Linked DNA regions of Homo sapiens: regions 1, 2, 3, 4, 5 and 6 are each linked to region 7. The links are contacts of gene promoters, found by promoter capture Hi-C in blood cells and fetal thymus (Javierre and others, 2016). All regions are on one chromosome and are shown on one strand. The core of a region is centred on a gene start or on the middle of the fragment in contact, and the rest is flanking DNA. Distances in the headings are between cores, read along the strand shown.

Region 1 (4,125 bases), core at 289-2,788, 110 kb before region 7:
AACCTGGGAGGCGGAGGTTGCAGTGAGCTGAGATTGCACCACTGCACTCCAGCCCATGAGAGAGCAAGACTCCATCTCAAGAAGAAAACAAACATCCCTTTCATCTAACAATTCTATTTCTAAAAATTATTTTATGAAGCCAACTGTTTATTAATAATAGCAACATCATTACTATAACAGCTAACATTTATTATTTAATAGTTTCTATTCTCTAGGCACAATGCTAAAAGTGGATTATTTCATTTAATGCCCTAAGAGTTAGTATATGTTGGAACTTGATTTCAAACCTAAACTTTTAACTCCTTAGTTAGCCATATATAAGTGTCTGTACATGAATGCTTTTAATATTGAAACTGTTTATAATATTGAAAAATGGAAAACCCAGTACCCAATAAAGTATTAATAAATTTATGATACACAAAATCACATATATAGGTGTGTGTTTGGATTTCAGAGAACTGTCCCAGATCCTGTTTGGGGTGTTATACAAAAATATTAAGTATACGCTTTATAGTATTTTTCCAAAAATTCAAAAATTTCTGAATTCCCAAAAGCATTTGGCTCTAGGAGTATCTGATGTGGGACTGTGGATCTGGATTTTTTTTTGTTGTTAAGTACTATTTTATAATCAAGAAAAAAAAATCTTTAATATTTAAAGCCTCTGTAACACATCTGTAAGCCTTCTATATTACCAAACAAAAAACCAGGACAAGCTTGAGTAACTTTCTTATCCATGTTAGGTAATTATTTGCATAATTTCAAAATATTAAATTGCTCCCAAATCAAATAACCTTGCACTAAACAAATCTTTACCTTGTTGTTTTATGCCGAAGATCAACTATGACATCTACATCAGCCTTAGAACAATTGGAAAGTAAAAGAGTGACTGGTACTAAACAAAGGCTATGGAAGAAAAATAAACAAAAAAGTTATATATTTTTTTCTTCTTAAAAGCAATTTTCCTGAAAATAACACTTAAGACTATGTAACAGAGCATAAGCTCCTTAAAAACAATCAGATTCAAGAAGGAAAAAGCTCAAGTTCCAAAATCACTCAAGACAAATTATATTGTAAATAAAAAATATATTAATACAATGACAATATTAAATATCAGAATATATACATTCACAGAACTATTTTATTTTCATTTATTAATCTTCTAAAAACAACTAAAATGTTTCTAGATATTTCACAAAATGAAAAACAAAATCTCAACTTAGATCAATGAAGAAAAAGTAAACCATGAAAATGCCAACAACTAATACTGTTGTCTTTGTGCTTATTAAAAATTACTTAATTTTGAGAACTTGGCCTAGACTGACATTTGTTTTTCTATCAAATTTGCACAACATCATGTTTTGAAGAATATAAGAATGATTTCTATATAGTTATGAGGAAATCTCTTTCGAGTGGATACATTTTGCTCAGGTAGCCTAGTTTCTGATACCATAATTAATAAATTACTAAAGCATAGGAAAAAAGGCAGTGATAGAAGAGGACATGCGAATAGAGTGGTACAGATTTCAAATCAAGAATGCAAGAAATGAATATAACATGTACAAATGAAGCAGGGTTATATACTATTATCTACCTTTTACTCTATAAACACAAAGATAGTAAAGAAGAAAAAATAGTAACCGTATAAGTTCATACACATTAACTTTTAAATTCTGCTCAGATAATATATTTTATACTTTCAGAAACTTTATATCTTCTTACTGAGAAATACTTTTTAAACAATACCGCAAACGTCACAGGTTTCCCTAAACAAAAACTAAGATGATTTAAAATACATACCAGGTTGTACTGGTGCTATGCCCTAACTTCCCCCACAAACTTCTCATGTGGCAAGAAGGGCAACAAAGACTACTGGGTAGGTGTCCAGTCAGTCTGAAGCATCTCATTAAATTAAGTTCCAATTGCATAATTTGTAGCCCAAAGTAAAAATTCAGGAACTTATGCTATTCTGTTCCCATTTGATCCTCAAATGTCAAATTCTTTGTACCTTATACAAATGCTTCTAGTAGAAGAAGAAATGTGAACATGTGGATATCTCCTGGTCCAAAGTGAAACTCATCATCTTCATTCCAGTGAAGAGCACCCCCATCTACCCCAGCAAACTGTAAGTATCATACTGATTCCTCCTAACAGTCACTAACCTCCACTCCCAATGTTCTTCACAAATTCCTGCCAATTCTCTCACCCACACATCTCTGGAACCTGGTTACTTCACTGTATCTCATTTTCCTTACAAGTTCAAGTCTCATGTCTCATTTTACTGCAAGAGCCTCTTAATTAGCACCACAATGCAATCTATTCTTTAACCATGTTTCTCACACTTGAGTATGCACCAGAAATACCTGGCAAGCTTGTTTTAAAAAACCTGCTGGGCCTACTCTCAGAGATTCTGATTCCATAGGTCTGGAGTGTGGCCCAAACATTGCATTCCTAGGCTGGGCACGGTGGCTTGCGCTTGTAATCCCAGCATTTTGGGAGACCGAGGCGGGCGGATCACAAGGTCAGGAGATCAAGATCATCCTGGCTAACATGGTGAAACCCCGTCTTTACTAAAAATACAAAAAGTAGCCGGGCGTGGTGGCAGGTGCCTATAGTCCCAGTTACTCGGGAGGCTGAGGCAGAAGAATGGCATGAACCCAGGAGGTGGAGCTTGCAGTGAGCCGAGATCACACCACTGCACTCGAGCCTGGGTGACAGAGCAAGACTCCGTCTCAAAAAAAAAAAACAAAAAACAGAAATTACATTTCTAAGTTCCCAGATGATACTAATACTAATGCTCCTGGTCTGGGATCACATTTTGGTTGTTGTTGTTGTTGTTGTTGTTGTTTTTTATTCTTTGAGATGGAGTTTTGCTCTTTTTGCCCAGGCTGGAGTGCAGTGGCACGATCTTGGCTCACTGCACCCTCAGCTTCCCAGGTTCAAGCTATTCTGCCTCAGCCTCCCCAGTAGCTGGGATTACAAGCGCTCGCCACCACACCCGGCTAATTTTTTTTTATTTTTTAGTAGAGATGGGGTTTCACCATGTTGACTAGGCTGGTCTTGAACTCCTGACCTCAGGAGATCCGCCCGCCTTGGCCTCCCAAAGTGCTGGGATTACAGGTGTGTGCCACCAGGTCCAGTCTTGGGACCACATTTTGAAAACTGCTTTACACATTAGTTTTTCTAAAATGCTAATCTAATGAACCACAAACAGGGCTGAGAAATCAAAGTTCTGACAACTATTCTCCCACCACTGCATCCAGTGAAAAAGCTGGGCTCTAGAGTCAGACTGCTACCTGTACCTCAGTTTTCTCAACTGTAAACTGCAAAGAATAATAATTGATTCTACCTCTTGGGTTTGTTGTGATTAGGTAAAACATGTTAAGTGCTGAGAATGGTGACTAGCACATGTTCAAAAGCTCCATAAACATTATTTAATATAACAATTTATGCTCATGGCAGCTAAACATAGTATGATTTTATCTTTGTTATCTCCTGTCACCTATTCTTTCTTCTATTCTCATACCTCTACTGCTCTGTGTCCCACTACCATGACCAAACCTCCTACTGTCCCATTTCCTCACATTTCTACTTGTTTTCTGAAACCCCCATTAAATTAAGAATGCTTCCTTATATCCTCCATCTCTTCTCTTTGTGTTTCTACATCTATCTTTAACTGTATTGTCCTCTCAACAATAGATGCTGTATTTCTTCCAACATCTTCCATACCTCAGGGTGGCTGATGTAGTTCTTAATGATTTCTTTCTACTACCTCTCCTGTAAAGATGCCTCCACTTTTTCATCATAAACTACCTTAAGGTTTGTATTCTTTTTTCTGTTCCCATTCTAACAAACACAGTGACAGTAACTCAGTACAGCGAGAATTCTTTGGGGGAAAGGGGAAGAAATGGATATTCTGAAATATTTGAGGTAAAGATGAAGCATGTGTAGTCTGAACATCTGCTTTACCTCCCATTTGTGAATTCATCTGCTGTATCGGTCAAGCAGAGGCATACACCTAGTAAGACACTATTCTCTCGCTACCCTCCTCTGTACTATCTATTGGCATAATTTTAAAAGTGTCAGGGAAGTTTGTTTTCTTCCTTCAACTCCAAGTCTTGTCATCAT
Region 2 (4,019 bases), core at 2-2,501, 95 kb after region 7:
GGTAGATTCTGCCGTTCCTGTATTGCTACCAGTCTAAAGAACAACAAGTGGACCTGTCCTTATTGCCGGGCATATCTTCCTTCAGAAGGAGTTCCAGCAACTGATGTAGCCAAAAGAATGAAATCAGAGTATAAGAACTGCGCTGAGTGTGACACCCTGGTATGTATGTGACCCCACCTATTTTCATGGTTACCAGCTTAAGTCCCTGCGAAAGTTATCATTTCACCTCTGCTTCTGACCCCATGGTACGCACCTTTTTTTTTTTTTTTTTTTTTTTTTGAGACAGGTTCTCGCTCTTTCACCCAGGTTGGAGTGCAGTGGTGCGATCTCGGCTTACTGCAACCTCCGCCTCCCAGGTTCAAGTGATTCTCCTGCCCGCAGCTTCTCGAGTAGCTGGGTCTACAGGCACCTGCCATCACGCCTGGCTAATTTTTTGTATTTTTAGTAGAGACACGGTTTCACTATGTTAGCCAGGATGGTCTCAATCTCCTGACCTCATTACCCGCCTGCCTCGGCCTCCCAAAGTGCTGGTGAGATGTGAGGCCAGCTGGACTTCCCGGGTAGAGTGGGGACTTGGGAAACCTTCCTGTCTTACAAGAGGATTGTAAAACACACCAATTAGCGCTCTGTAAAATGCACCAATCAGTGCTCTGTAAAACGCATCAATCAGTGCTCTGTAAAGTGCACCAATCAGCACTCTGTAAAACGCACCAATCAGCAGGATTCTGAAAGTAGCCAATCGCAGGGAGGATTGGAAAAACTGCACTCTGATAGGACAGAAACGGAACATGGGCGGGGACGATAAGGGAATAAAAGCTGGCCACCCCAGCTAGCAGTGACAACCGGCTTGGGTCCCCTTCCATGTTGTGGGAGCTTTGTCCTTTTGCTCTTCACAAGAAACCTTGCTACCACTCACTCTTTGGGTCCGTGCCATTTTTTTTTTTTTTTTTTTTTTTGAGACAGAGTCTTGCTCTGTCGCCCAGGCTGCAGTGTAGTGGCGCCATCTCGGCCCACTGCAAGCTCCGCCTCTCAGGTTCAAGTGATTCTAATGCCTCAGCTTCCCGAGTAGCTGGGACTACAGGCATGTGCCACAATGTCTGGCTAATTTTTTGTCTTTTTAGTAGAGAGAGGGTTTTGCTATGTTGGCCAGGCTGTTCTCAAACTCCTGGCTTCAAGTGATCTGCCCACCTTGGCCTCCAAAGTGCTGGGATTACAGGCGTGAGCCATCTCACCCAGCCTCCAATTTCATATATGTACATATATCATCTGCAGAAAACCCTGAACTTCTACCATCACCCGTAATTTGTCAAACAAATGCTTTCATTGACCACCTCCATTTTCCCTTCTTCCCATTACTCCAGTGATCCTCTATGATATGTCCTCCAGTTCTGCTACTCTGTTGCAGACCACTAATGAATAGCTTTATTATCAAACCCAGTGACATATTTCCACCTGTATTGATCTGGACTTTGCAGTATTTGTCTCTATCAAGCACACCTTGCCTGTTGCAGTTTTCAACTTGGGTACTATATCAGCTTCCCCAGATCATGTGAGGTCTTGAAGGTTATGTAGAAGATTCTAGATTTTATCTTAAATGCAATAGTAAGCCAGAGAAAGAGAGTAAGTTTTGGAGTGCCAAGATCGGGCTTATATCTTTATTTTTATTTTTATTTGAGACAGAGTCGCACTCTGTTGCCCAGGCTGGTGTGCAGTGGTGCGATCTCAGCTCACTGCAGCCTCCACCTTCTGGGTTTAAGCGATTTTCATGCCTCAGCCTCCCGAGTAGCTGGGATTACAGGGGCCCAACACCACGCCTGTCTAACTTTTGTATTTTCAGTAGAGACACAGTTTCACCATGTTGGCCAGTCTGGTCTTGAACTCCTGACCTCAGGCGATCTGCCCGCCTCGGACTCCCAAAGTGCTGGGATTACAGGCATGAGCCACCATGCCCAGCCCAGGATTGTATCTTTAAGATATCACTCTAACATACACATAGAAAATGGTTTGGAGGCCAGGCGCAGTGGCTCATGCCTGTAATCCCAGCACTTTGGGAGCCCGAGGCGGGAGGATTGCTTGAGCTCAGGAGTTCAAGACCAACCTGGGAAGAGACCTTGTCTCTACTAAAAATCAAAAAAATTAGCTGGGGCATAGTGGTATACGCCTGTAGTCCTAGATACTCCAGAGGCTGAGTAGGAAGAGCGCTTGAGCCCAGGAGATCAAGGCTGCAGTAAACTATGATCGTGCCACTGCACTCCAGCTTGGGCAACATAGCAAGACTCTCTCAACAAAAAAGAGGAGCTGGGGAGAGGATCATGTTCATGTTCATGTTAGAGGGTGGTTTTAAAGGTAAATGATAAATATATATGTGATATATATATAACTGATGATTGTCTTTTAACACAGTGTCTGGAATATAGTAAATGCTCAAAATTAATAGCTTTTTACATTCTTAATAATAGATTATTGCCTATTTTTACTTTGTCTTCACATAAAATTCATACACAAAATCAAACTCATTATATTGTTTAATCATCCAATTCTTGATCCCACCTTGGTGTCTGTCAGAAACAAGAGGATTCTCTCAATTAACTTGTGTGGAAATCCACCACTCCCCCTCCCCCATTATCTGATTAATCACAAAGATTTTGATTTTTTTCTTTGAGATACTTTTTTTTTTTTTTTTTTGAGATGGAGTCTCACTCTGTTGCCCAGGATGGAGTGCAGTGGTGTATGATCTTGGCTCACTGTAACCTCCACTTTGCACGTTCAAGAGATTCTCGTGCCTCAGCCTCCCGAGTAGCTGGGACTACAGGCATGCACCACTATGCCCGGCTAATTTTTGTATTTTAGTAGAGACGTGGTTTCACCATGTTGGCCAGGCTGGTCTTGAACTTCTGACCACAGGTGATCTGTCCACCTCGGCCTCCCAAAGTGCTAGGATTACAAGTATGAGCCACTGCGCCCAGCTTTGAGATACTTCTTATATTCTGTCTTTTCCTTTCTGTGTTATCCCTCTTTCTAGGAATGCTCCCCATTCCTTCTACGCACATTTTGCCCTCTCCATGTTGCACTCTCTGTGTTCTTCAGAGTCCCGCCAGATCTCCATTCCTTGAGGCCTGGCCTTAGTTTTCCAGTTCCCTATATCAAACAATTTCTTTCTTTTTTTTTTTTTTTTTTTTGAGACAGAGTCTTGCTCTGTCACCCAGGCTGTAGTGCAGTGGCACCATCTCAGCTCACTGCAACCTCTGCCTCCTGGGTTCAAGCACTTCTCCTGTCTCAGCCTCCCAAGTAGCTGGGACTATAGGTGCACACCACCACACCCGGCTAATTTTTGTATCTTTAGTAGAGAGGGGGTTTCCATATTGGTCAGGCTGGTCTCAAACTCCTGACCTCAGGTAATCCACCCACTTCAGCCTCCCAAAGTGCTGGAATTACAGGCGTGAGCTACCACGCCCAGCCCCTATATCAAACAATTCCTTATCTACTTGTCTAACATCCTTTTTTCTTCTGTTAGATTGTAAGCACCATTAGAACAGGCACAATGAACTGCATTTCTTCTGCCATTTTTTATAATGTTTCAAATAATCTTGTGTCTAGACTATGAATTGATCAATTCATTTGTCAGTAGATAGTCCACGGCTTGTTAATTTTCATGACTAATGCTTATCTTTGTTGAACAAAGAATACAAATAGAAATTTTTACCAGCAAAAGTCATAAAGACATGAGAGAACCCTAATGTGCAAAGTTGGATGTTACAGGTCGTAAAATACATCTGTTTAAGACAGCTTGTGCAGATCAATCCTAGTTTTTATATCTTTTAGGTGGATATTTGTAAAGCCAGGGTTTTGTTCTTACTTTTCACTTGCTTTTATTTTTGCCCTTTGTTAAACAATTATAACTGTTTCCTTGACACGGCAGATTTCATGTTTGAGGTTTAACTTCCGTAGCTTGGGCAAAATGAAGCAGAGTGGGTCGGCCACCTTACCACAGCTGTACAGAGCTTCCTTTAGCACAAGAT
Region 3 (3,890 bases), core at 1,368-3,867, 65 kb before region 7:
AGAATGATATACAAGATGTGTGTTCAAAATGGAAAATTGCAAGGAATGCCAAAATCTTACAAGTATTGCAATAAGAATGCAATATTTGTGGCAATAAACATCATCAATGTAAAAAATCAAAAGAGGTACACAGAAAGACAGATCCTGCATGTTCTCACTCATATGTGGGAGCTAAAACAGTGGATTTCATGAAAATAGAGAGTGGACTGGTGGTTACCAAAGGCCAGGGAGAGTGGGTGATAGAGAATGAAGTTGATTAATGGGTACAAATACATGGTTTGATAGAAGAAATAAGACCTAGCGTTAGACAGATCAGCAGGGTGACTATAGTTTACAACCATCTACTCTACATTTCAAAATAGAGAATTTGAATGGTTCTAAGGTGATGGATATCCCAAGTTCACTGACTTGATCTTTATAAATTATATGAATGTATGAAATTATCACGTATTATACCCCAAACTATGTATGTTTATTATGTATCAATTTTTTTAAAAGGAGAGTATTTTCTTCAAGATCGCTTACAGCCGGGAGGGGTGGCTCACGCCTGTAATCCCAGCACTTTGGAAGGCTGAGGCGGGCAGATCATGAGGTCAGGAGATTGAGACCATCCTGGCTATCATGGTGAAACACTGTCTCTACTAAAAATACAAAAAATTAGCCGGGCATGGTGGCGGGCGCCTGAAGTCCCAGCTACTCAGGAGGCTGAGGCAAGAGAATGGCATAAACCTAGGAGGCGGAGCTTACAGTAAGCCAAGATTGTGCCACTGCACTCCAGCCTGGGCTACACTGCGAGACTCCATCTCAAAAAAAAAAAAAAAAAAAAAAAGATCACTTACTAGGGACCTCAGATCCTCAGATGCCAGTTCTCCTCAGAAAGATCAAAGTAACTAATTATCCAAACAGAAAACTGAGAAAAGACAGCCAGGATATGATGAAGAACCCATGGAAAGAAACTAGAGTGCAGGAAAGAAAAACAACAAGAGTTTGGCAGGGATCGAGTGCTGAGGAACACAAAACCCCATGGAAAGGGTAAGTGGGAGTACTTCTCTGCTGCCCTCACCCCTCTGACCATCTGTTCACCATCCAACTGATGGGGAGTCCCTCTGCCCTCATGATGCAGGACAACACTAACAGTGGCAGTTTGAGAACGTCCCAGGGACAAGGATGTGGGTGGCCAGCTCACACAGGCATGCCCGCCCTCCTTTCAGGCCTGAACTGAGACAGGAGATACCACTGCCCTGCCCAGGAAATCTCTGCTCTTGAGTCACCACCGCACCACCAGATCCCTAACATATTCACAACTGCTGTGACATTAGCAAGTTTAGGAGACCAGTGGGTCCCCAGAGAAGGTGTGAGACCCATGGAGATGTAACCGTTAATTTAGGCTGCCCCTAGGGGAAGGGGGGACAGTAGCCTGCCAAAGCCCCACCTTGAGACAAAGGTAATGCAAGCAAGCAACAATCGCTGAAGTGGGCAGCCCCAGCGGCTGGAAATGAACATGAAGAGGGGATCATTTCCCGCCCACCCCATCCACTGTTGTGAACACAGGAGAGGTTCTCCCTGCTGGGAGCTGGCAGACGTGTCCTTGGGGAAAGCACTTTTCATGCTTTTTGTGGTGGCTCCATCACAGCTAAAAGTGAGCCTGGCCGGGCGCGGTGGCTCACACCTGTAATCCCAGCACTTTGGGAGGCCGAGGCAGGCAGATCACAAGGTCAGGAGATCGAGACCATCCTGGCTAACACGGTGAAACCCCGTCTCTACTAAAAATACAAAACATTACCGGGGTGAGGTGGCGGGCGCCTGTAGTCCCACCTACTCGGGAGGCTGAGGCAAGAGAATGGCATGAACCCCGGGGGGCGGAGCCTGCAGTGAGCCAAGATCGCGCCACTGCATTCCAGCCTGGGCAACAGGGAGACTCCGTCTCAAAAAAAAAAAAAAAAAAAAGTGAGCCCATGGCCAGGCACGGTGGCTCACGCCTATAATCCCAGGCACTTTGGGAGGCCAAGGCGGGTGGATCACCTGAGGTTGAGAGTTTGAAACCAGCCTGACCAACATGGTGAAACCCCGTCTCTACTAAAAATACAAAATTAGCCAGGCGTGGTGGCGCGTGCCTGTAATCCCAGCTACTCGGGAGGCTGAGGCAGGAGAATCGCTTGAATCCAGGAGGCAGAGATTGCAGTGAGCCGAGATCGCACCATTGCACTCCAGCCTGGGTAACAAGTGCAAAACTCTGTCTCAAAAAAAAAAAAAAAAAAAGTGACCCCATGCCAACTGGGCTTGCAGGAAGGGCAAGGCCCAATTCCCCCTCCCTACAGAGAAGCATCCGGGCAACAGAAGGTGGACAAGCTGCAAAGCTGTTTACTCTGTACTAGAGGAAGAAGTTCCGCCCTGAGCCCATTTTGGTGGCAGCTGCCCGTTTTGGTGGAAGTGTACTCTGGTCAGAGCCTAATGGACAAAGTCTACATGAACTGATGGTTGTGAGCCCTCTGACCGGGGCGTGATAAGGAAGCTTCTGTCTGCTCAGGATGAGCAACTGGTGCACCCCATCCCAAAAAGGATCAAATAATCTATAAAGTAAATATTATCAGACTAACAACAGACTTCTCAGAAGAAACCTTACCAACAAAAAGAGATTTGGGGCCTGTTTTTACCCTTTTTAATGACAAATAAAAACAAAAACAAAAAAACTACTAGCCAAGAATTTTACAGCCTGCCAAACTAAGCTTCATAATTGAAGGAAAAAATAGTATTTCTCAGACAAGAAAATGCTAAAGAAATTTGTCACCACCCGACCAGCTCTACAAGAAATGCTCAAAGGAGTTCTAAACACGGAAACAAAAGGATGATACCTGCTAACCATAAAGATACACGTAAGTACAAAGTTCAAAGATCCTATAAGGCAGTTATACAATTGGGACTACAAAGCAACTAACAACATTATGACAAATACAAAACCTCACTTATCAATATTAACTTTGAACAAAAATAGCTTAATTGTTCTACTCAAAAGACAAGATCCAAGCATATGCTATCTACAAGAGACCTATCTTCTGTGTAACGAGATCCACAGGCTCAAAGTCAAGGGGTGGAGAAAGATCAATCACGCAAATGGAAAACAAAAAAGAGCAGGGGTTGTTATTCTTGTTATCAAATAAAATGGACTTTAAACCAACAACATAAAAAAAAAGACAAAGAAGGGAATTATATAATGATAAAGAGTTCAATTCAACAAGAAGATTTAACTAGCCTAAACATATACACACTCAATACCAGAGCATCCAAATTTATAAAACAAATACTACTAGACTGAAGACAAGACAAGCAGCCATACAGTAATACTGGGGGACTTCAACACCCCACTGACAACACTAGACAGATCATCGAGGAAGAAAACTAACAAAGAAACTCTGGAATTAAATCGGACTTTTGACCAAATGGACCTAATAGACGTCTACAGAAGATTCCAACTGACAACTACAGGATATACATTTTTCTTATCTGTGCATGGAACATTCTCTGAAGTTGACCATATACTGGGTCACAAAGCAAGTCTCAAAAAATTTTAAAAAGTCAAAATCATATCAAGGATCTTCTCAGACCACAGTGGAATAAAATTAGAAATCAATACCAGGAGGAACGCTCAAAACCATACGAGTACATGGAAACTAAGCAACTTGGTATTGAATGACTTTAGGGTAAACAATGAAATTAAGGCAGAAATTTAAAAAAATTTTGAAACAAATGAACACAGAAACACAACATATCAATACCTCTTGGATACAGCAAAAGCAGTGTTAAGAGGAAAGTTTACAGCACTAAATGCTTATATCAAAAAGACAGATCTCAAATTAATAATGTCACATCTAGAGGAAACAGAAACAAGAACA
Region 4 (3,793 bases), core at 1,146-3,645, 120 kb after region 7:
CATGCCTGTAATCCCAGCTTCTCGGGAGGCTGAGGCAGGAGAATCGCTTGAACCTGGGAGGCGGAGGTTGCAGTGAGCCGAGATCATGCCATTGCACTCCAGCCTGGGTAACAAGAGTGAAACTCCATCTCAAAAAAAAAAAAAAAAAAAAAAAGAACATTTAAAAATTAAAAAAAATTTAAACCCTAATTTTAAGAAACTTAAGAAATCCATTATTATTTCTGGCTGCCTTTATAAAAGACACTTTGTTTTTAACGTCATATAGGACTTTTTTTTTCCTGGAATTTGCAAGGATTCTTACTCTCTTCAGTATTCCTGAAAATGAAAGTAAGTGGCTCACATAGGAAGAAGGAGAGATTTCGTAGACTTTCTGTAAAGTGAACAGACTTCAGGTACTGACTCCTCGTAAATCTAGACTGTTATAAAATTGCCCTACAAAGCTCTGAGAAAATGACTCACATGAATAAAGAGGAAAAGGACTGGCCTGGCGTGGTGGCTCCCGACTGTAATCCCAGCACTTTGGGAGGCTGAGGTGGGCAGATCACCTGAGGTCAGGAGTTCGAGACCAGCCTGACCAATATAGAGAAACCACCCCCCATGTCTACTAAAAATACAAAATTAGCTGGGCATGGTGGCCCATGCCTGTAATCCCAGCTACTCGGGAGGCTGAGGCAGGAGAATCACTTGAACCCAGGAGGCAGAGATTGCGTTGCAGTGAGCCAAGATCACGCCGTTGCACTCTAGCCTGGGCAAAAAGAGCAAAACTCCGTCTCAAAAAAAAAAAAAAAAAAAGACAATTATAGAAAAAAAGATAATAACATTAAACAATAAAAAAGAGCAAAACTCCATCTCAAAAAAAATTTAAAAAAAAGAGCAAAAGGAGTGGGAAGTTTTTCTAATTCTCATGGATTACAGTAGGAGAATGAGAACAGGTGCAAAAGAAACTCAATGCACTTGGCTTTATGCCAACAATGATTTTTTTACACAGCAAAAAATTACAAACCTTCTTCCTTACCTCTCTTCCTCAAGCTTATACATAATAGACATACAGCAGCATTTCTATTTCTACATTATACTTGGGCTGTTTATAGTATTGAGCTAATAAAGATTTTTACACAGTCGTAGAGAAAAGGGTCCTCAGAGGTGATCTAATGTAGCCTCCCTCTCAAGGTGATAAGTAACTTACTGTGTGAGTGCTTGAAGTTTTCCAGAATGGTAACCCAGTTATTACAAGGATTTTGTTTCTACACCTTTCAACATCTTAATTTCCCTTCTGTGTCTATTGCAGTTTATTGATGTTTTCCTTACCCAGCACTTAAAATAGAACACAGCACTCCAAGAATGGTCAGTGAATGCAGAACAGAGGAAACAACCATTATTCTAGATAATTGAATGTTATCCATACAGCACTGTACTAGCTTTTTTATGATTGAGTCATATTTCTGGCCTAATTATGATTCTCAGTAAAATAGAACCCCAAATGACTTTTTTTTTTTTTTTTCTGAGACGGAGTTTTGCTGTTGTTGCCTAGGCTGGAGTGTAGTGGCGCGATCTTGGCTCACTGCAACCTCTGCCTCCCGGGTTTAAGCGATTCTCCTGCCTCAGTCTCCCGAGTAGCTGGGATTATAGGGGCATGCCTCCACACCTGGCTAATTTTTATATTTTTAGTAGAGACGGAGTTTCTCCATGTTGGTCAGGCTGGTCTCAAACTCCTTACCTCAGGTGATCTGCCCACCTCAGCCTCCCAAAATGCTGGGATTACAGGCATGAGCTACCGCGCCTGGTCCAAATGACTGTTTTTTTTATAGGTACTGGAGTTAAGAAAGGTGTTCTCCATTACAGCCTAGGTATTAGATTTAGAATTTCTCATTTGTTCGCCTACTATTTTATCTTGTTTCTCTGAAAGAAATTATATTGTCTTTAAGGCGGTTGTTCTCAAACTTTATCATGCATGAGAATCATCTACAAGACCTGTTTAAACATAGATTGCTGGCCTCTGCCCCTAGAGTGTCTGATAAAATAGGTCTGAGCTAGGGCCTGAAAATTTGCATTTCTAACAAGTTACCAGATGGTGACAATGCTGCTGGTCTGAGGACCCCACGCTGAGAACCATTGCTTCCTTTAAAGCGCTAAAGTGGCCAGGCACCGTGGCTTATGCCAGTAGTCCCAGCATTTTATGAGGCCAAAGTGGGAGGGTTACTTAAAGCCAGGAGTTTGTGGTTACAGTGAGCCATGATCATACCATTGCACTCCAGCCTGGGTGACAGAGTGAGACCCCATCTCTAAAAAAAAAAAAAAAAAAAAAAATTAAAGGGCAAGTGAGAAGTATGACCATATATGTACTTTCAATTTTTGTGGATGCATAGTAGGTGTATATATTTATGGGGCACATGAAATACTTTGATACAGGCATGCAGTGTGTAATAATCACATCAGGGTAAATGGCATACCCATCACCTTAAGCATTTATCCTTTCTTTGTGTTACAAACAATCCAATTATACTCTTTTTTTTTTGAGAGGGAGTCTCGTTCTGTCGCCCAGGCTAGAGTGCAGTGGTGCGATCTTGGCTCACTGTGACCTCCGCCTCTCAGGTTCAAGGGATTCTCCTGCCTCAGCCTCCCAAGTAGCTAGGACTACAGGCTCATGTGACCACACCCAGCTAATTTTTGTATTTTTAGTAGAGACAGGGTTTCACCACGTTGGTTAGGCTGGTCTCAAACTCCTGACCTCAGGTGATCCACCCACCTTGGCCTCCCAAAGTGCTGGGATTTCAGGCGTGAGCCCCTGTGCCTGGCCTATACTCTTAAATGTACAATACATTATTGTTGACTTTAATTGCCCTGTTGTGCTATGAAATGCTAAATCTTATACATTCTATCTAACTATATTTGTGTACCCATTAACCATGCCCACTTCCCCCAATCCCCACTACCCTTCCCAGCCTCTGGTAACCATCATTCTACCCTCTATCTCCATGAGTTCAATTGGTTTAATTTTTAGCTCCCACAAATAAATGAGGACATGTGAAGTTTGTCTTTCTGTGCTAGGCTTATTTCACTTAACATAATGTCCTCCAGTTCCATCCATGTTGTTGCAAATGACAAAATCTCATTCGTTTTTATGACTGAATGGTACTCCATATGTACCATGCTTTCTTTACCCACTTGTCTGTTGCTGGACACTTAGGTTGTTTCCAAATCTTGACTATTCTGAATAGTACTGCAATAAAAATGGGAGTGCGGATATTTCTTGAATATACTGATTTCCTTTCTTTGGGGAATATACCTGGGAGTAGGATTGCTGGATCATATGATAGTTTGATTTTCAGTTTTTTGAGGAACCTCTAAATTCTTCTCCGTAGTAGTTGTACTAATTTACATTCCCACCACCCGTGTATGAAGTTTCCCTTTTCTCCACATCCTCGTCAGCATCTGTTATTGTGTGACTTTTGGATAAAAACCATTTTACCTGCGGTGAGATGATATCTCATTGTAGTTTTGATTTGCATTTCTCTGATGATCAATGATGCTGAGCACTTTTTCATATGCCTATTTGCCATTTATATGTCTTCTTTTGAGAAATGTCTGTTTAAATCGTTTGCCTGTTTTAAATTGAATTACTAATTTCTTTTCCTGTAGAGTTGTTTGCACTCCTTATATATTCTGGTTATTAATCCCTTGTCAGATGAGGAGTTTGCAAATATTTTCTCCCATTCTGTGGGTTGTCTCTTCACTTTATTGATTGTTTCCTTTGCTGTGCTGAAGCTTTTGGATGTGATTCCATTTGTCCATT
Region 5 (3,998 bases), core at 188-2,687, 130 kb before region 7:
AGAGGATGTATGTAAAAATGGTTTCTGAGGCTATCCTTACTCCTTGGCTCTTGGCTAGCAATCTTAACAATTTCTTGATATGACACTTTTTTTCCTTTAAGATTTTACTCTAAGGATAATTTTCCAAGTGGGTTGCATTCTGAAATTGTTTTGTTACTCTTAACATTACTCAAAAAAAAAGCTTCTCAGATGTGCAAAGGTATTTTCAAGGGATATAATGGCTGCTTTCTGTTGGGACATAATTCTTCATGAAGCTCTTGCGTTTCTGCATCTCTTGTGAGCCAAAGCATTAACTTCCATTTTGTTTCAGACTACCTTTTCCTGGATGTTTGTGTCAGCCTTGGAAGGTTGAGATCTGTCTCTCTCTAAAACTGACAGTTGGTTGCTTCCTGTCCAGTATAACAAAGCTAATATATCCCCCTACAGTGAAGGTCAGGCAGGTTTGCTTGCAGCCCTCTATAATAGATATTCTATAAATATTTTAGAAACCAAAGTTTGAATCTATGTTGCCCCATAATCAGCCAGTGAAAGCCCATTGAGACAAATGGAACAATGAAGACTGAAATTTAAACTTTTGTTTCAATGTGGAAATTTTGCTATTTGGGCAATTTCACTCATTTAGAAAACAGACTGTAGTTGGTGTCCTTGTTAACCCCAAGTCTTTGCTTAATTATTATTCAGTGCTGCAGCTTATAGTATTAGCTGTGATTTGGGGCCTTAAGGAAGGGCTTAGATTGGCCACAGTCAGGACAAAGCAGCATGAAAAAAGCTGTGGCCAAAGAGAAGCCTGTTACCTGCCAGTGGCCAGAGGTGACCCTGGAAGCCAGCACAGCCGCTGCCCAGACAAGAACAACCAGGACGGCTGTGAGTATCCTGGTGGATGATGAGGGGAACCTGGTCAAAGACTAGACTTCTTCTTTTTTTTTTTTTTTTTTTTTGAGATGAAGTCTCACTCTGTTGCCCAGGCTGGAGTGCAGTGGCGCGATGTCGGCTCACTGCAATCTCTGCCTCCCGCGTTCAAGCGATTCTTCTGCCTCAGCATCCTGAGTAGCTAGGACTACAGGCATGCACCACCAAGCCTGGCTAATTTTTTGTATTTTTAGTAGAGATGGGGTTTCACTGTGTTAGCCAGGATGGTCTCGATCTCCTGACCTTGTGATCCACCCACCTCGGCCTCTCAAAGTGCTGGGATTACAGGCGTGAGCCACCGCGCCCAGCCCAAAGACTAGACTTCTAAAACATCATCTGGGCGGGGTGTGATGGCTCACTCTTGTAATCCCAGCACTTTGGGAGGCCAAGGCGGGCAGATCACCAGGTCAGGAGTTAGAGACCAGCCTGAACAACATGGTGAAACCCCAACTCTACTAAAAATACAAAAATTAGCCAGGTGTGGTGACGCACACCTCTAGTCCCAGCTACTCGGGAGGCTGAGGCAGGAGAATCGCTTGAACCCAGGAAAGGGAGGTTGCAGTGAGCTGAGATCACACCACTGCACTCCAGCCAGGGTGACAGAGTGAGACTCTGTCTCAAAAAAAAAAAAAAAAAAAGATTCTGGGACAAATGCCCATCAACGATAGACTGGATAAAGAAAATGTGGCACATATACACCATGGAATACTATACAGCCATAAAAAAGAATGAGTTCATGTCCTTTGCAGGGATACAGATGAAGCTGGAAACCATCATTCTCAGCAAACTAACACAGGAACAGAAAACCAAACACTGCATGTTCTCACTCATAAGTGGGAGTTGAACAATGAGAACACACGGACACAGGGAGGGGAACGTCACACACTGGGGCGTTCCCCCAGGGCAAGGTTGGGGGCAAGGGAAGGGATAGCATTAGGAGAAATACCTAATGTAGATGAGGAGTTGATGGGTGCAGCAAACCACCATGGCACATGTATACCTATGTAACAAACCTGCACGTTCTGCACATGTACCCAGAACTTAAAGTATTAAAAAAAAAAATGACTCCGAGAGACGAGAATTGAGGGGATAAGTGGTCAACAATAACAATACTAAACTCAGCCAAATTAACTGCTGTATTAAAAATTGGGTTTCAATAATAAAATGTGGCACATCAAACCAGCCTGCCCCTATAAAAATATCAGGTTGATCTATTCATCAAACAAATATTTTTGAACATATAGTCTATGCCCAGGCACTGCACAAAATCCATAGGTATAACATGATGAACAACATGGCTTCCTGCTAGGATCTTAAACACTCAGAGGGGACAACACACCTTACTGGCAATGGCAACATAGTTTTATTAGTTAGGGTATGTTCAGCAAAAAAAATCAATAGGTTTAATAAAATTAAACTTTACTTCTTTTGCACAAAAGTCCAGATAGACAGTCCCAGGCAACTATGTAGACTCCACAATCATCGGGACGATGGGCTTCTACTAAATTGTTGCTCTATCATCGACACATGGCTTCCACCTTGTGGAAGATTCCCAGTAATGGGAGATCTCTCAAGAACCCACAAAACATTCCCTGGTGCCCAGAGACCATCAATGCCAGGTTATCACAGTACCGGTGAGGTAAGGCGTTCCTACACCCTTGCTACTCCTACTTAGGTACTTTTACCAAATTCTGGAAGATTCAGAGTCAGCCAAGTATATTAACACAGGAAGGAGAAGCACACAGTAGAAAAATGGAGAAGTTGGCCATCTTCCTCCCAAACTGAAAGCTTCCCAGGAGAGAAGCCAATGTTAACTTTATGAAATTCAGAATGCTGGTTATTAAAGTTCTTGGAAATTTTAATTATTGAAATTGAGGCTCTTCTTGAGATTTAAAGTGATCAGAGGGCATTGGTCAAAAGAGTTATGGTACCCAATATCTCATTCATCAGTTCATTTCTTCTATTCAATTCAACAAGAATTTCTAGTATGTGTCCTGCATTGTTCTAAGTATTAAGGAATGATATGAAAGAAACAAATCTCACAGTTGATGTGCCAAGCCCCAAGTTTACAATCAAAATAAAGCCTAGAATCTTGAACAGAATTGGTAACTTAAAATAGTGCGGTGGTTGCTATAGAGTGTCGACCTTAAAGAGATTCAAGAAATATGGTTAAATATAGCATTTAGTCAAGCACAAATTTTAAGGATAGGCATCCAGGAACACAGATTCCAAAGAATGGAAGCCAGTGCTCCAAAGTGGAGAAGTTTTGGGGGTCATTTATATAAATAAGGTTTGGGAAGCTTAACAATGTTTCAACATTTTCCACACAAGGCTAGCACACAGTTACAGTAATCTGATTAATTGAGGTGGTGTTCTTTTTGGGAAAGGTATATTTAACATTCCACATTGAGGATATAACAATCATGGAGTCTTCCGCACCATCTGATCTGAGTTAGATGCAAGATAATAAAGGAGGAAAGGCTAGCCATCATCAGGAGGGGGAGGTCTTATGTCTGGCACCATTTAGTCTTTCCTAATTGATTTGCAGAACAAGAACAACGAGAAAGAATGAATCTATAACCTGAGAAGCAGAAATTGCAGCCACATGCATGTGCTCAGACCACACAGTCACATTTCCTTTAAGGCTCAACATAATTTTTAGGCTTCTAAAAATTATAATTAAGTTTGAATTATTTAGGTTTCATACAGCCATTTGAAATCACATCTATTAGAGGGACTTACAGAGGGACTTACGAAGTTCAAATGGAATTTAAGTAAATCATGTTTTAAAATGATACATTTTTTGAGAACTTATTACTGTCAGTCACTGAGCTAAGAAATGTATGGAATTAGGTCAGCCGATCGTCAAAACGACCCATTGAAATAGGAATTATTGTTGCTACACTATACAGATGAAAAAACTCAGATGGCTGGTTAAGTTACTGCCCCAAAGTCTTATATTTGGTAAGGAGGAAAGCCATGGATTGAAAGCTGGGTAGTGTGATTTAGGAACCTTTCAATACTAGCTGTTCCAAGGCAATCTTGTTTGCAGAGATGACAGCCTGTATTAGTCTGTTTTCACACTGCTG
Region 6 (4,279 bases), core at 1,075-3,574, 85 kb before region 7:
AAACCAACTTACAGTATTGGTATTTTCCACATCCACAAAGACTAGCATATTGCCTCCTCTGCCTTCTTCATTTTCAAGAGAATTACTTCTGCAGACAGTGGCCCGTACATTTAAAGACCGACTGGTACAAATAATTGCAGTGTGTCTTAATATTCTGTGCCTGAAGTTAAAAAAAAAAAAAAAAGCACATTTAAGCACAGAGTCTCTATGTTATAATTATCTAATTCCAAATAAAGATTTTAAAAACTGATCACTCTCAGGACCATTTATACTCTAAAAATCCATAGAATACATTAAGTAAAATTACATAGTTAGCCTAACTTCAGTTCAATTCTTTCTATCCAATTTGGAAGGAAACTACTAGTCTCCCTGTCTAAGTTTTTGCCCTGCTTATCAAATTCATCTGTATAACACATAAAAATAATCTTCATATGGTAATGTTCTGATTGTGCTTCTTTCTCTCTCTTTTTTTTTTGAGACAGAGTCTTGCTTTGTCACCCAGGTGGGAGTGCAGTGGGGTGATCTCAGCTCACCACTGCAACCTCTGCCTCCCAGATCAAGCGATTCTCCTGCCTCAGTCTCTGAGTAGCTGGGATTACAAGCATGTACCACCACACCCTATAATTTTTGTATTTTTAGTAGAGATGGGGTTTCGCCATATTCATCATCTTCATCATAAGGTGTCTGCTTTCTAGGATATTTAGGGTTAATGTGCTGTACTTTGGTGATCTCCCCCCAAAAATCAATCATATTCACCATCTTCATCAGCCATATTGGTCAGGCTGGTCTTGAACTCCTGACCTTAAGTGATCTTAAGTGAGGCCCACCTCAGCCTCCCAAAGTGCTGGGGTTATAGGTGTGAGCCACTGCGCCCAGCCTTGCTTCTAATAGTGGTTCTGAAGCTACTGAATGACTACCAAATAAAGTTCAAACTTTAACCTGGTATTCAAAACTCCTCACCATATATAAGCTTTACATTTCAAAGGTTTCTTCCTCTTTACTTCTTTTACAAAAATTTTACACTGTGGCTGAACTAACTACATTCAGTTTGTGTTCTCTAATCTGTAAATCTTTACAAATAAAATATATACAGCCGCTCCCTAGAATAATACCCACTACTCTCTTGCATATCCCTCCCTTGATATTCAAATGCTAAAATCTTTTTTTTTTTTTTTTTTTTTTGAGACAGAGCCTTGCTCTGTCACCCAAGCTGGAGGACAACGGTATAATCACGGCTCTCTGTAGTCTTGACTTCCTGGGCTCAAGCGAATCTCCTGCCTCAGCCTCCCAAGTTATTCCTAGTTAATTTTGTAAAAATGACAATGGAGGTATCAAAAGAAAATATTCTGTTGAACAAAATATAGGTCATAGATCCTGGATGAGCCAGTTAGCTTTGATTTCTTCAGTGATCATCTATTGTAACACCATTATAATCTTCTCTTCTGTAAATATGTACTGTTTTTCATACATTCTTGTGGGGCAAGGGGGAACACTAGGGAAAAGGTAAAACAAAACAATTTTCTTAAAAAAGGATGACTGAGACGACCAGGCAGGTTGTCTTCATACATAAATGACGCCCTATTTTAATACATGGTACCTGTTAATTTCATTATTATGTGATAGCTCTGTCTACAGTACTTAAATCGTATCAAACAATTGAGAAGTTTACAGACAGAAGCAACTAAAAAAATGTGTGCCGTTAAATTTTATTTTTTCATTTTTGGGTACCTAGAACTTACAGTTCTATTTGAGACAATTTCAGATATAAATATCCTGCATAATCTGGAACAGAGTAATTTCTTAACATGTTAGTAAATATCAAAATGTTTATCTGAATATGTGCATATACATTGAACATAGATGTTAAATTTTATAAGTTTTATAATACTAACCGTATTTTTGGCTGCTTTTTGACACTTTCATAGTAAAACAAAAAGTTAATTTCATGGACACCTTCTTCATCAGGCCCACGTAACCACATTGGCAGCTGCACTGAGGCTCCGGGTAGAAGAACAGTGTCAGGAAGGGGAACAGGAATCACCTCTGGTTGACTTCCTGTGCCAATGCCAAAGTCTACAGAAGAAGCTGATGATATGAGTGCTGTACACACAGAGGTAGCATCTGTCACAACAGTCTTGTAAGCACTACAATTCTCAGAAGCTGAGGGACTTAGTGGTGTTAGAACAGCAGTATTACCACCGAAAGTAAAGAACTCTGGACGTTTAGAAACAACCTTCAATCCAGTAAGTGGACATTTGCTGACATTGACAAATTCTACATATGCTTTTCGGATTTCTCCACAGAGAAGCCCTGTAGGAAAATGTATAAAGAACACCTGCATTGGAGGGAAAAAATATTATTATTTGTCTGTTAAAAATTTTGAACCTCTAATGAATAACACTTTAAGACACTTTTTTTTTTTTTTACCAAAGGTTTACAAGTGTTTCATTAATTCTTTGGTATCTCCCTGAATATGTGGCAGTTAATGACTCCATTTTAGAAAATATGATGAGACAGAAGAATGTTACTCTGCCACTCAGTAGTGATTCTAGACTTATGAATTAAAGGTATACTATCAGTACACAAGAGGGCTAACATGTCAAAATTTCACAACTTGGTAGATTATGGACCAGAAAAGTTGAAAGTAATTTAACACGGCTATATGAAGTAAATATCAGTTTTATAACCCTTATAACTGTCAACTAAAGAAGCAGCTCAACTACTTATGTCTATATCATCAAGATGAAAAGATATGCCAGATTTACTATGGGTTTTAAAGTGAAAGAATGGGCAGATCTATGATTTCATATCCATAATTTTAAAATCCAAAAAACTCCAACCTCAGGCTTTTAGTAACTCATGTGGGGGCAAAACCTGACCTAATAGAGGCTTTTTATATTCTTTCCCATTTAGTGTGATATTAATACAGTTCATGCAAGAAATATTAATGTTTGGTTACTAGGTGCTGCCACAAAGCAATGGGGTTTACATAACTTCACACACACACTTCTAAAAAAAATTTTTAAATTGATTTCCAACACACATGTGGCCTCAATATTTCAGATGAGGGATTGTGGACTTGTGCTTAAAGAGACAGAAATTTGGGCTAATGAAATCATACAGTAAGTTATCTGCATTTAAAAGATCTTTAAGTATACTGGCTGGGCACAGTGGCTGATGCCTGTAATCCCAACACTTTGGGAGGCCAGAGTTGGTGGATCCCAGAGTTGGTGGATCCCTTGAGCTCAGGAGTTCAAAACCAGCCTGGGCAACATGGTGAGACCTGTTTCTATCAAAACTACAAAAAATGAGCCGCACGCCTGTGGTTCCAGCTACTGGGGAGGCTGCAGTGGGAGGACTGCTCGAGCCCAGGAAGCAGAGGTTGCAGTGAGCCAAGATTGTGCCACTGCACTCCAGCCTGGGTGACAGAGTGAGACCCCATCTCAAAAAACAAACAAACAAACAAACAAAAAAACAGATATTTAAATGTCACAACTAACATCTAAGCAAGCAGGAAGATAAAGGTAACAATATGAGTGAAATGTTCTAATAAAGTTATAGCTGGCAGTCACTTCATGAAATTCCAGTGAAAATATGTTTTTGAATCTAAATGTGAGTGGGACTTCATTATGGCCATATTCTTAAAAAGAAAAAAATCAGATGAAATTTGGGGACATTAGAAGCTTTAAAAATAAATGAGAAAACAAGGGATTAATGTAGAAATCCCGCACATAGATTTAATAGGATAAAAAAATAAGCTAGACATAGCATTATACTGAAGACACTGACTCTCTGTACTGATTAGTCAGTGTCAAGCTTATAGTCGAGCTAAAACTTGTGGAGGAATTATTAATTTTGTTATTACATCCAACACAGCTGCATTAACAAAAAGTGAAATAGAGTATTCAGTGTGTAAAAACACACTAAAATACATAGAGACACCTAGATACCATCAAGAAGGTTACAGCATTGGTAAAATGGTAACAGTGATAGAACACATAAAAGACTAGTGGTACCAACTATGTATAGGATCACATGTACCTTCAGAACACAGGTTTACTAAATACACTATTTTGACTCTTTAAGAAGAACAAGGCCAGGCACAGTGGCTCACGCCTGTAATCCCAGCACTTTGGGAGGTGGGCAGATCACGAGGTCAGGAGTTTGAGACCAGCCTGACCAACATGGTGAAGCCCCGTCTCTACTAAAAATACAAAAATTAGCCAGGCATGGTGGTGCGCACCTGTAATCCCAGCTACTCAGGAGGCTAAGGCAAGAG
Region 7 (4,115 bases), core at 1,442-3,941:
GCCTGGGCAACAGGGCAAGACTCCATCTCCAAAAAACAAAAAACAAAAAAACTAATTTCACTTGTTTCTTTTTACTTTTTTAATGTGGCTACTAAAATTTTTTGTTGTTGTTGTTTGTTTGGTTGGTTTTGAGATGGAGTCTCACTGTGCCTCCCGGGTTCAAGTGATTCTCCTGCCTCAGCTTCTCGAGTAGCTGGGACTACAGGCGCCCACCACCACGCCCAGCTAATTTTTGTATTTTTAGTAGAAACGGGGTTTCACCATGTTGGCCAGGATGGTCTCGAACTCCTGACCTCGTGATCCACCCGCCTCGGCCTCCCAAAGAGCTGGGATTACAAGCGTGAGCCACCGCGCCCGGCCGAAAATTTTTTAATTATACCTGTGACTCACATTATATTTCAATTAGACAGCACTGCTCTATGGTGTAAATACATAATTCTAAATACTGTCAGGAGATAAGATGATTAAGAACACAATGTCTTGAGTCACACTGCCTGTTTCAAATCTTTCCCAGACGCAAAACTGTGAACAAATTAACACTTCTATGCTTCAAGGTCCTCAAATTTAAAATTGCAATAACAGGATTCAATGAGGACTAAAAAAGAAAAGTTACACAAAGCAAGTATCAGGTATTAGCATTATTATTATTTATTAAGAAAGAAGGAAAGAGTACACATATAAAAGTAAAACTAGCTCAAGTGTTTGTGTTTTTTTAGGAATTCAAGGCCGGGCGCGGTGGCTCACGCCCATAATCCCCGCACTTTGCGAGGCCGAGGCGGGCAGATCACCTGAGGTCGGGAGTTCGAGACCAACCTGACCAACATGGAGAAACCCTGTCTCTACTAAAAATACAAAAATTATCCGAGTATGGTGGCGCATGCCTGTAATCTCAGTTACTCAGAAGGCTGAGGCAGGAGAATCGCTTGAACCTGGGAGGCGGAGGTGGCGGTGGGCTGAGATCGCGCCACTGCACTCCAGTCTGGGCAACAAGAGCGAAACTCCATCTCAAAATAAATAAATAAATAAATAACAAAAAAATAAAAAACGTAGGGCATTTTGTTGCTCTTAAGTCCAACACTGAAGGAACTGAGACTGATGGCTACGATACAGGCTAAAGAAAATCCAAAAGTTTCCAAACTTTGTTTTTTTGGACAGCTCCCTCTCTCCGCTAAAAACAAAAGCTAATTTATAATGGAACTATTCTCCCAAAAAACATGGTAGCGCAAAAATGGTACAGCACTGATTTTTTTTGTGGATAAGTCATATTAAGCTAACAAACATCACAGTCGTTTGCCTGACACAGGCTTATTATGAAACCCTTCAGTTCTTACCGACCTTAACAAAAAAAACTTTACTTGGACTTTGTTGTTTGCAAGATATTGGCTAAAACATGCTTGAAGCTTTACCACATTATTTTCTCCTAATAAAAAAATCCAAAACTGGAGAAAACGGGTAGCTTCTTAACAAGACATTCATTAACAAGAGAAGACATTTCCATCCCTATAACTATAGATAACTCCAAATATCCAGGTTAAATTAACCACAACTTGGGCTTGCTTCCTCTTCCTTAGGGCAAAAAGCTGCTTCAAGTTTTATTCTTCTTATAATACTTTTAATTTTCTTGAGAGGTTAAGCAAAATACCGTATAGCTAAGAATATATTAGTAAAACAGCTACACGGTAGTTCAGACAGAGATGACCCTCAACGCTACAAGAATGTAATAACATCCACAACTACTTTCAAAGTCCAGTTTAACATCCAAGGGAGGATGACAGGTCTTCCTTACTCAGACCCTGTCGGTCTAAGAGGCAGCATTTTCCTACCTTAGCTGCTTTGCAAGTGCCTAATTCCTTCGCTATGGCCGTGGAGAACAGTCTCAATGCCGTTCTCGAAGACTCACGTTTATCTTTGCACCAATTACTTAACGACCTAGGTTGTCCGAGGAAGAAAGGAAGTGCCCAGAGAAACTGGAGCTTAGGACTGCGCTGTCTTGACAACCTCACGGTCCCTCCTCCAGCCGCCCCCGGAGCACCGCGGGGCCACAGCCCCAGACGCCACGGTACCGGCTCCAGGACGTAAACACTGCCCTTCTCTTCCCTGCCCGCCCGCAACTTCCTTCTCCCGACCACGGCTTTGCGGGAGCCCACTGGAAAAGGGAGGATACCACATACCCTCGGAAGTGAGGCGGGAGAAGGGCTTAAGCAGCTCCGCGAAGCTGAGGTGATTGAGACGAGTGAGCCGCTCGGCTTCGTCGCTGCACAGCGCAGCGACACAGGGGACGAAGGAGTCCGGGATTAGCTCCTGCACTGATTGTACACACTGGGCCATCGCCGCAGCACAGGCAGCGGCGGCGCCCGCCCTCCGGCCCACCCTGCGAGGTTATCCTGCGGCTGCAGCAGCTACCGCCGCCGCCCGCCGGCCTGGCCCGGCCGGGCGGGGCCCCGAACGCACTGGAGCCTAGAAACAAGAAGGAACAGACGCCGCCGCTTCGGTTTCTGGGGCACAATCCACTGACCCCCCCCTTCCCGTCACCGCCGCTTCTCAGCGCTCGTCCCCGCGTGCTCGCATTCCACCCCGATAGGTGGAGACGCCGACAGTCACCACTTAGTCCTTCGGACGGCAAAACCTTGGTCACTGCCCGGCCGGAACCGCCATGTTGAGGCCGAACCCTGACCAACCGGCAGTACTACTCCCAGCTGCCCCCGCGCGCGTCCCTCACGTGACTGTGTTAAAGGAGACGGTAGGGGCAAGGGAAGAGAGCTGAGGAGAGGGAAGTGAAAAACGACGGAGGCCGGTTGGGAGGCTGGAGCCGGAAGTGTTGTGACGGAAGCTCCCTGGGCGGGGCGGGGCTACAAGTGCGGTGGGCGGGGGCGGGGGCGGGGGCGGGGGCGGGGGGAGGTGCACAACTGTAGGCCGGGTTCTCAAGCTCGCCCTTAGCAGAGCAGAGCTGAGAGCCACCTACTAGCGGCAGGTGGAGCCTCGAGACGGGTGCTGTCGTGGTGATGGAGGCGCACGCTCGCTTCCCACGCAGTTTGGCCTTTTTGACGTCCCTGGCTGTTGTGGGCAACCGATTTGGTTGGTCGCGCTGCTTCCTACGCTCGCCGGCGGAGCAGCTAGTGGCACCTGCTCGGAGAGAGGGAGTGGATCTCTCGGAAGTGCTTGGGGTTTCGCTGAAGCGGACCTGAACAGACCATGTGTCCTTTAAATACAGCCATGCTTTTAGAAACGGACTGTCACTTTATGTGGACTCAACCATTGAACAGAATGTGTGCTTTTGTGAGTGCTGCAATTCCTTCAAGTGTAATTGCGCTACTGCATTTTTGTTGGTCGCAGGGAAGGGGTGTGCCTGCAAATGTCCGCGTGGTTCGTCCTCAGCCTCTTCCTTTTTACACTGTGCTAGGATGTTTACTTGCTTGTGGTGGAGGTAGGGGAAGCCAGTATTTGTGTACTGTGTACTGTCCTGAACCGGCTTTCATTCCTAACTTTTCAAAGATTGCTTTAAAGGGGGGGGGGCGCGGGTCAAATATTGTTTTAAAGGGGGGGACGGGGTGAGGTCAATGGTGTGTGCCTTGTAAGTAGAAATGAATGAAAGGAATTTTACTAATGTGTCACTCAATTGTTTGAGCTCCTTCTGTTTTGCATGCCAAAAATATAAGGCAAGGAAAAATGTATCATTCTATCATGATTTTATGGTGCTCTAATTAAAGGTGTCTTCCCCAACGTCAATGTCTCAAATTTTTCGACTTCTTGACACCCTCAGGTTTTCACTAAGGTAATAATTTATGACAAGTAAGATGTGTGCTTCTCATGTAAGTTGATAAATGGGAGGTAGGAAGGCACAGTAGGACATATTGATGACATGCCTTGGCTACAGATTAATTTATAAGAGAGTCCATCACTTTAGGAGATTTATTTGCCGAAGTTAAGTACGAGCCCAGGAAACAGGTCTATGCCTTTCTTCGAAGATGATTTTGAGTGCTCCAAATTTAAAGGGGAAAGGGCGGGATATTGAGAAGCACACCGTTTTCATGTAAGGGGGCGGTAGGAGAAAATAGTAATTCTTGCCTTTCTCTGGCTCAGTGAATCTGCATTTTTTACATAAGATGACATAAAAT

Evidence for each region. Contacts are between HindIII fragments. The CHiCAGO score rates a contact against its expected background, and 5 or more counts as called.
Region 1: a fragment that was not itself captured here is called in contact with the fragment with the promoter of TRAPPC8 in region 7 in 13 of 17 cell types (activated CD4 T cells, total CD4 T cells, non-activated CD4 T cells and 10 more); the score reaches 11.3 in activated CD4 T cells.
Region 2: a fragment that was not itself captured here is called in contact with the fragment with the promoter of TRAPPC8 in region 7 in 7 of 17 cell types (naive CD8 T cells, total CD8 T cells, non-activated CD4 T cells and 4 more); the score reaches 10.6 in naive CD8 T cells.
Region 3: a contact is called between a fragment that was not itself captured here and the fragment with the promoter of TRAPPC8 in region 7, in 15 of 17 cell types (naive CD8 T cells, total CD8 T cells, total CD4 T cells and 12 more). The highest score is 12.4, in naive CD8 T cells.
Region 4: a fragment that was not itself captured here is called in contact with the fragment with the promoter of TRAPPC8 in region 7 in 10 of 17 cell types (neutrophils, total CD8 T cells, naive CD8 T cells and 7 more); the score reaches 15.5 in neutrophils.
Region 5: a fragment that was not itself captured here is called in contact with the fragment with the promoter of TRAPPC8 in region 7 in 5 of 17 cell types (fetal thymus, total CD4 T cells, activated CD4 T cells and 2 more); the score reaches 7.7 in fetal thymus.
Region 6: a contact is called between a fragment that was not itself captured here and the fragment with the promoter of TRAPPC8 in region 7, in 16 of 17 cell types (total CD8 T cells, non-activated CD4 T cells, total CD4 T cells and 13 more). The highest score is 15.4, in total CD8 T cells.

What each region holds. Positions count from the first base shown.
Region 1 is chr18:31,831,271-31,835,395 of GRCh38, forward strand. TRAPPC8 (trafficking protein particle complex subunit 8) reads right to left here. Exons shown (of 29, transcript NM_014939.5): 28 at 814-903. Among named protein-coding and RNA genes, the nearest start is that of SLC25A52, 72 kb to the left of the region's middle. The HindIII fragment of the contact is 1,655 bases long and covers 712-2,366 here.
Region 2 is chr18:32,037,111-32,041,129 of GRCh38, forward strand. RNF125 (ring finger protein 125) reads left to right here. Exons shown (of 6, transcript NM_017831.4): 2 at 6-159. Among named protein-coding and RNA genes, the nearest start is that of RNF125, 20 kb to the left of the region's middle. The HindIII fragment of the contact is 7,519 bases long and covers 1-4,019 here.
Region 3 is chr18:31,875,684-31,879,573 of GRCh38, forward strand. The region is part of intron 12 of TRAPPC8 (trafficking protein particle complex subunit 8); the gene reads right to left. Among named protein-coding and RNA genes, the nearest start is that of TRAPPC8, 65 kb to the right of the region's middle. The HindIII fragment of the contact is 214 bases long and covers 2,511-2,724 here.
Region 4 is chr18:32,055,849-32,059,641 of GRCh38, forward strand. The region is part of intron 4 of RNF125 (ring finger protein 125); the gene reads left to right. Among named protein-coding and RNA genes, the nearest start is that of RNF138, 34 kb to the right of the region's middle. RefSeq lists an enhancer at 1,821-2,356. The HindIII fragment of the contact is 2,736 bases long and covers 1,028-3,763 here.
Region 5 is chr18:31,814,428-31,818,425 of GRCh38, forward strand. No RefSeq gene overlaps it. Among named protein-coding and RNA genes, the nearest start is that of SLC25A52, 56 kb to the left of the region's middle. The HindIII fragment of the contact is 2,516 bases long and covers 180-2,695 here.
Region 6 is chr18:31,855,648-31,859,926 of GRCh38, forward strand. TRAPPC8 (trafficking protein particle complex subunit 8) reads right to left here. Exons shown (of 29, transcript NM_014939.5): 20 at 1,893-2,335; 21 at 13-160. Among named protein-coding and RNA genes, the nearest start is that of TRAPPC8, 85 kb to the right of the region's middle. The HindIII fragment of the contact is 2,713 bases long and covers 969-3,681 here.
Region 7 is chr18:31,940,437-31,944,551 of GRCh38, forward strand. It overlaps TRAPPC8 (trafficking protein particle complex subunit 8), which reads right to left and starts at 2,692. Exons shown (of 29, transcript NM_014939.5): 1 at 2,172-2,692. The coding sequence starts at 2,328. RefSeq lists enhancers at 1,587-2,365, 2,467-2,676 and a silencer at 2,297-2,416. The HindIII fragment of the contact is 12,839 bases long and covers 1,399-4,115 here.